Linked DNA regions of Homo sapiens: region 1 is linked to region 2. The links are contacts of gene promoters, found by promoter capture Hi-C in blood cells and fetal thymus (Javierre and others, 2016). All regions are on one chromosome and are shown on one strand. The core of a region is centred on a gene start or on the middle of the fragment in contact, and the rest is flanking DNA. Distances in the headings are between cores, read along the strand shown.

Evidence for each region. Contacts are between HindIII fragments. The CHiCAGO score rates a contact against its expected background, and 5 or more counts as called.
Region 1: a contact is called between a fragment that was not itself captured here and the fragment with the promoter of MTHFD1 in region 2, in 1 of 17 cell types (fetal thymus). The highest score is 6.3, in fetal thymus.

Annotation. Positions count from the first base shown.
Region 1 is chr14:64,498,200-64,501,614 of GRCh38, forward strand. All of the region lies in intron 1 of ZBTB25 (zinc finger and BTB domain containing 25), which reads right to left. Among named protein-coding and RNA genes, the nearest start is that of ZBTB25, 3.9 kb to the right of the region's middle. The HindIII fragment of the contact is 2,399 bases long and covers 753-3,151 here.
Region 2 is chr14:64,386,622-64,389,724 of GRCh38, forward strand. It overlaps MTHFD1 (methylenetetrahydrofolate dehydrogenase, cyclohydrolase and formyltetrahydrofolate synthetase 1), which reads left to right and starts at 1,732. Exons shown (of 28, transcript NM_005956.4): 1 at 1,732-1,847. The coding sequence starts at 1,807. RefSeq lists enhancers at 795-894, 915-974, 1,495-1,584. The HindIII fragment of the contact is 3,471 bases long and covers 1,049-3,103 here.

The DNA of each region.
Region 1 (3,415 bases), core at 702-3,201, 110 kb after region 2:
TTGCTGACTATACTGTAAAACCTTCTATGCAGAGCTGTATTGATGTCTGAGTCCCAACCCAGGCTTAGCCCAAACAGAATTGAATTGCTAGGGGTGAGGCACAGATTCTTTTTTTTTTTTTTTTGAGACAGAGTCTCGCTCTGTCGCCCAGGCTGCAGGCTGGAGTGCAATGGCGCGATCTCGGCTCAATGCAACCTCCGCCTCCTGGGTTCAAGTGCTTCTCCCGGACTCAGCCTCCTGAGTAGCTGGGATTACAGGTGCCCATCACGCCTGGCTAATTTTTATATTTTTAGTAGAGATGGGGTTTCGCCACGTTGGCCAGGCTGGTCTTGAACTCCTGACCTCAGGCGATCCGCCTGCCTTGGCCTCCCAAAGTGCTGGGATTACAGGCGTAGGCCACTGTTCCCGGCCAGATTGTTTATTTGTTTATTTATTTTTATTTTTATTTTTTTGAGACAGAGTCTCACTCTGTTGCCCAGGCTGGAGTGCAGTGGCACGATCTCGGCTCACTGCAAGCTCCGCCTCCCGGGTTCGCGCCATTCTCCTGCCTCAGCCTCCCGAGTAGCTGGGACTACAGGCGCCCACCACCACACCCAGCTAATTTTTTTGTATTTTTAGTCGAGACGGGGTTTCACTGTGTTAGCCAGGATGGTCTCGATTTCCTGACCTCATGATCCACCCGCCTCGGCCTCCCAAAGTGCTGTGATTACAGGCGTGAGCCACCGCGCCCAGCCCAGATTCTTTTTTTAAAAAGCTTCCCAGGTGATTCTAACGTGACTGCTCAGTTAAGAACCACTGCCTCAGAAGAACACGGGACCAAGGAAACCCAAGAAATTATTTCACACTCTACAATTACATTGATATTTAAGAGACAATAAAAACTTTCTTTACTTTCTAGATTGTATAACTCTGGATTAGTTCAAACTAAGTAAGATAGAACAACTTTATACTAGTCTCTATAAATAAACAATTCCGTAAGAGTGTTCAAAGTATGGAAATTATGTTGACTACATTAAATGAACAAATATAAACAACTGTAATTCTAATTGTAACCTTAAAATATTGGCCAGATTAAGAAACAAAAGTGCTCCATGGCCAGGCATGGTGGCTCGCTCCCAGCACTTTGGGAGGCCGAGGCAGGTGGATTACCTGAGGTCGGGAGTTCGAGACCAGCCTGACCAACATGAAGAAACCCCGTCTCTACTAAAAATACAAAATTAGCCAGGTGTGGTGGCACATACCTATAATCCCGGCTACTCGGGAGGCTGAGGCGGGAGAATCGCTTGAACCCAGGAGGCAGAGGTTGTGGTGAGCTGAGATTGTGTCATTGCACTCCAGTCTGGGCAACAAGAGTGAAACTCCATCTCAAAAAAAAAAAGAAAAAGAAAAAAAAGAATCAAAAGTGCTCCTAAACTGGCAGGATGGGCATGGGTGGGGGGGTGGAGGAACACACTATTTTCAGACTTCTTTTCAAATAGTATTTAGGAAAAAGAAATATTTACTCTCTTACTCCATTACACCTAGATTGGATTTCATAACACCTAAAAATGATACAGAAATTCTAAATCTGAAAATACTGTTTGAGGTAAAATCTGCTGTAATTCCAGACATCTGCTTATTAAGATCTACTGAGAATGTTAGCAAAGAGGGTATGGAGGGGGTAGATGAAACAGGAAGAGTAGTTATGCTCTAGAAACCTTTAATGGAACTGGGAAACGTTAGTTTGGGGCCTCCTGCCTGTTGGCAGACATAGCCAACCTCCAAGCACCTCTAATTCCCATCTAACCAACATTACATTGTAGGATGCCTGATAAAGCCAAGCACACAAGAATACTAACAACAGTAAGCACAAATTGTTAATAGACCTTTAAAAAAAATCAGAACCCGGAGAAAGAAAGGAAAAGATTCCTCTCAGTCCATTAAAGACAAACCAAATTTCTAAAAGAAAAAATAAGGTACTCAAAGGACAGGAGAAAGATGGAAAATTATAATGCTAGTACAGACCTAGAATACAGTACAGGCAAGAGTAACTAAAACTTCTGGATACAAGTAAACCAATACTTCTTTCGCAATGGAAGTATACTCCCATGAACACACTACTCAAGTGGGCTAATAAAAACCTTTGCTTAAAGTGCTTGGAGATTTCAGAAAAAATAAAACATCCATGCATGACTGATTTGTAACCAGAGAAGAAATGAATTAGAAAAATATAAAAAATAACTGAACACTCTAAGCACTTTTTCTCCCAATAAAGCAAAAAAAAAAAAAAAAAAAAAAGAGAGAGAGAGAGAAAGAAAATTCCTGCTAGCAAAGGGAAAGCAGAACGGTAAATAAATGCCTATAATCCCAGCACTTTAGGAGGCCGAGGAGGGTGGATCACCTGAGGTCAGAGTTCAAGACCAGCCTGGCCAATATGGTGAAACCGTCTCTACTAAAAATACAAAAATTAGTTGGGCGTGGTGGCAGACGTCTGTAATCCCAGCTACTTGGGAGGCTGAGGCAGAAGAATTGCCAATAAGGGGGAAAAACTCAAATGTCCATGGATAGTCAAATGGATAAAGAAAACATGGACCAGGCACAGTGGCTCACACCTATAATCCCAGCACTTTGGGAGGCCAAGGTGGGCGGATCACTTGAGGTCAGGAGTTCAAGACCCGCCTGGCCAACATGGCGAAACCCTGTCTCTACTAAAAATACAAAAATTAGCCAGGTGTGGTGGCAGGCGCCTGTAATCCCAGCTACTCGGGAGGCTGAAGCCAGAGAATCGCTTGAATGCAGGAGGCGGAGGCTGCAGTGAGCTGAAATTACACCACTGCACTCCAGCCTGGGTGACAGAGGTAGACTCTGTCTCAAAAAACAAACAAACAAAAAAAACCCCAGAAGTATAAAAAAATTTAATCAATAATCCTGAAACTGATGTTTGTTACAAACACTTTCTTCTTCCTCCTCTATCCCTAAGCAGGTTCAAGTAGCAATATCTTTCCTTTTTAGGGAGAATACTATTCTGGTTATTTTCAAAACCTATTATTATAATAAATACTATATGCGAGGCCTTGTGCTAAGTGCTCTATATACACTATCTCTTAAAATCGTCACTGTGATGACTAATGTATTATTTTCATTTCCATTTTACAAATGAGGAAAAATCCTAAGCTTAGGACACACAATCAGCAAATGGTATAAAGTGGAGATAAAAAGCCAGGTCTGTCTCCATAGCCTGTGCTAATAAACTGGAGCAATATTTTCTTAGCTTTCTCTTCTTAAAAGACTGAAGTTCACATGCTATTTGGAATAAATACACAGAAAAGGGGCACAGGAAGTGGTGCAGAAAGAAGCACTTTATAACTTATCAAGATAAGAGCACCTGCACTGCTTTTTTAAAACAAGGAAAAACCCTGCAATAATATAAAACCCC
Region 2 (3,103 bases), core at 482-2,981:
GAGGATCATTTGAACCCGGGAGGCAGAGGCTACAAAGAGCGGAGATCATGCCACTGCACTCCACCCTGAGCGACATAGCGAGACTCCGTCTCAAAAACAAAAAAACATATATTAGAAATAATTACCAGAAATAGAAAATCACAAGAGATTATCTAATCCCGTATATGGGGCTACTATAAATAACCTCAGAATTTAGAAATAAGAAAAAAATATTAAAAGCCCCAAAATTAATAAAAAATCAGTTTTAGGCCAGGTGCGGTGGCTCACGCCTGTAATCCCAGCACTCTGGGAGGCCGAGGCGGGTGGATCACGAGGTCAGGAGTTCAAGACCAGCCTAGCCAAGATGGTGAAACCCCGTCTCTACTAAAAATACAAAAATTAGCCGGGCGTGGTGGCGGGCTAATTAGGTGGTGCCTGTAATCCCAGCTACTCGGGAGGCTGAGGCAGAGAACTGCTTGAACCCGGGAAGCGGAGGTTGCAGTGAGCCAAAATCGTGCCACTGCACTCCAGCCTGGGCGACAGAATGAGACTCCGTCTCAAACAAACAAACAAAAAAAGTTTTAGATGAGCTCTGCCAGTAGTAAACGGCTTGTAAAAGAAACCCGGTATCTGGTCAAGTCCTAAGTGACCTGAACCACGCATCTTCAGGACTCTACTGGGATGACTGTAACCTGAACGCGGTTCCTAGAGCAGAGCAAGCATATTCCTTGGACTCAGTAACACAAGGGGCCAGTCCTCTCCAGCATCCCAGCTGCCACCGCCCTGTCAGGCTCCCCAGGCAATTGTCCATCTTACTCCTTCTCCAGCGTGGACGCTTAAGGGGAGGGAGCATCCCTCCTCGAGGGTCAACTGGCATGTAGCTTACGAAGACCGCGTGAGTTCTCCAACCCCAGACTTGCTGCGGGGCGGGGACGTGGGGGTGACAAAATCCAGACTACGACCCTCCATGAGCCCTGGCAACCCCGGGGTGACCCCAACACCGATGAGGCCACGCGCGCTCCAGCTCTGACACTCCTTCCAGATCGGCGGGGCCTGAAACAGCGGGCTAAGCTTCACCTACGGCTGAGCGTCAGATTCAGCTGAGGAGATTCTAAAAGCGCTATGCTGGGCCCAGACCCAGGCCCTCCAGAGCAGAACGCGGAGGGGCCCGACCCCAGTCTGGTGGCGTAGGTGTGTGACAAAGTATGAGGGCGCGCCAAGCTCTCCAGTTCCACATCTGCTGTCGAGTCCAGCGCCTGCCACGCTCCCGTGCGGGGACCCGCCCAAAACTCCCTGGAAGCCAGGCGATTCAGACCCCGCCACCGCGTCCCCAGAGACTGGGCGGAAACCGGAGACTCGCCTCCCGAACCCGCGAAACTATCTCCCGCGAGACTGCCCCGCCCCAACCCCGCCCCGCAACTCTACTCCCTGATTGGCTGGAATTACGGCCGGATTCCGGAGTCCTTTCCAGCTCCCTCTTCGGCCGGGTTTCCCGCCGAATACAAAGGCGCACTGTGAACTGGCTCTTTCTTTCCGCCAATCATTTCCGCCAGCCATTCATCACCGATTTTCTTCATCTTCCCCTCCCTCTTCCGTCCCGCAGTCCCCGACCTGTTAGCTCTCGGTTAGTTAAGGGACTCGGGTCCTTCCGAACTGCGCATGCGCCACCGCGTCTGCAGGGGGAGAAGCGGGCAGGGGCGCAGGCGCAGTAGTGTGATCCCCTGGCCAGTCCCTAAGCACGTGGGTTGGGTTGTCCTGCTTGGCTGCGGAGGGAGTGGAACCTCGATATTGGTGGTGTCCATCGTGGGCAGCGGACTAATAAAGGCCATGGCGCCAGCAGAAATCCTGAACGGGAAGGAGATCTCCGCGTAAGCACCTGACATTGTTGTTGAGTGTGGGGCTGTGGACGAGGGCTCTGAGGGTGTGCAGGTCCCCCGGACCCATTTTTTGCGGGAGGGACACTTGTAGCGGAAGAGTTAGGCCCATAACACCTGAAGACCTGCAGCCAAAGAAAGAGAACCCGGGCACAACCTGCGTTTGCAAGTGGACTGCCTAGTGGCTGTAGCCGCTGGCTCCTGTGCTTCGGGGAAAAGTCCTGTGCCGACTATGCTCCCAAACGCGCAGCTGCTGGTGACTTTCTGCCGGGAGAGTGGGTAGTTGCGGCTTCCTGGAGCCCCCCTAGTCAGAACTCAGAAATCCAATCTACTTAATTCCCGTTAATTTGGAGGTGAGTAGATGGAGACTAGTGAGGTGACAAGGCTTGACAAGACTACAAGGCTGATAATGACAGAGGGTCCTTCCAGCTCATAGCTTTTCCCACTATACCATAGTCTTATCATACGCTAAGTGAAATCTAATACATTTTTCCTTTCTCTTCAATCTCGTGCTTCTCTCTAACAGCCATCTCTCTGCCCTGGTCCTAGAGTTACTTGAAACGTAATTTGGCTCCTGAGTCCTGAGAATATTCTGCATTCCACTTGACCTCTGCCTGTTCTACCCTTGCGGGACATCTGAATGCTTAATTAGTGGGTATCGTTGCCAGCTTTACTCCCAGGAAGTAACACTGGCTGCTTTTTGTCTGGGAGGTGACTGGTGAGGAAAAATGAGAGTAGAAGGAAGAGGGAAAAATATATTCCCTCTAGTAGATGAAGGAGGGAAAGATATATTCTGTGTGACCTTACTGAGTTTGCTCTTGGGACCTTTCACATCACCCGTTATGTAAGTAACTGTTGCCAGCCACAGCAGTTACTAAATTGTAATTGTCCTGTAACTCCTAACTTTGTAATAGGTTTTTGAGTGAATTACAAAGTCATCGGTGGTGAAAAGTCCGGGCCCAGTGGCTCATGCCTGTAATCCCAGCACTTTGGGAGGCCGAGGTGGGTGGATCACCTGAGGTCTGGAGTTCAAGACCAGCCTATCCAAAATGGTGAAACCCCATCTCTACTAAAAATACAAAAAATTAGCCGAGTGTGGTGGCAGGCATCTGTAATCCCAGCTACTTGGGAGGCTGAGGCAGGAGAATCACTTGAACCTGGGGGGCAGAGGTTGCAGTGAGCTGAGATGCGCCATTGCACTCCAGCCTGGGCAACAAGAGCGAAACTCCGTCTAAGAAAAAAAAAAAAAG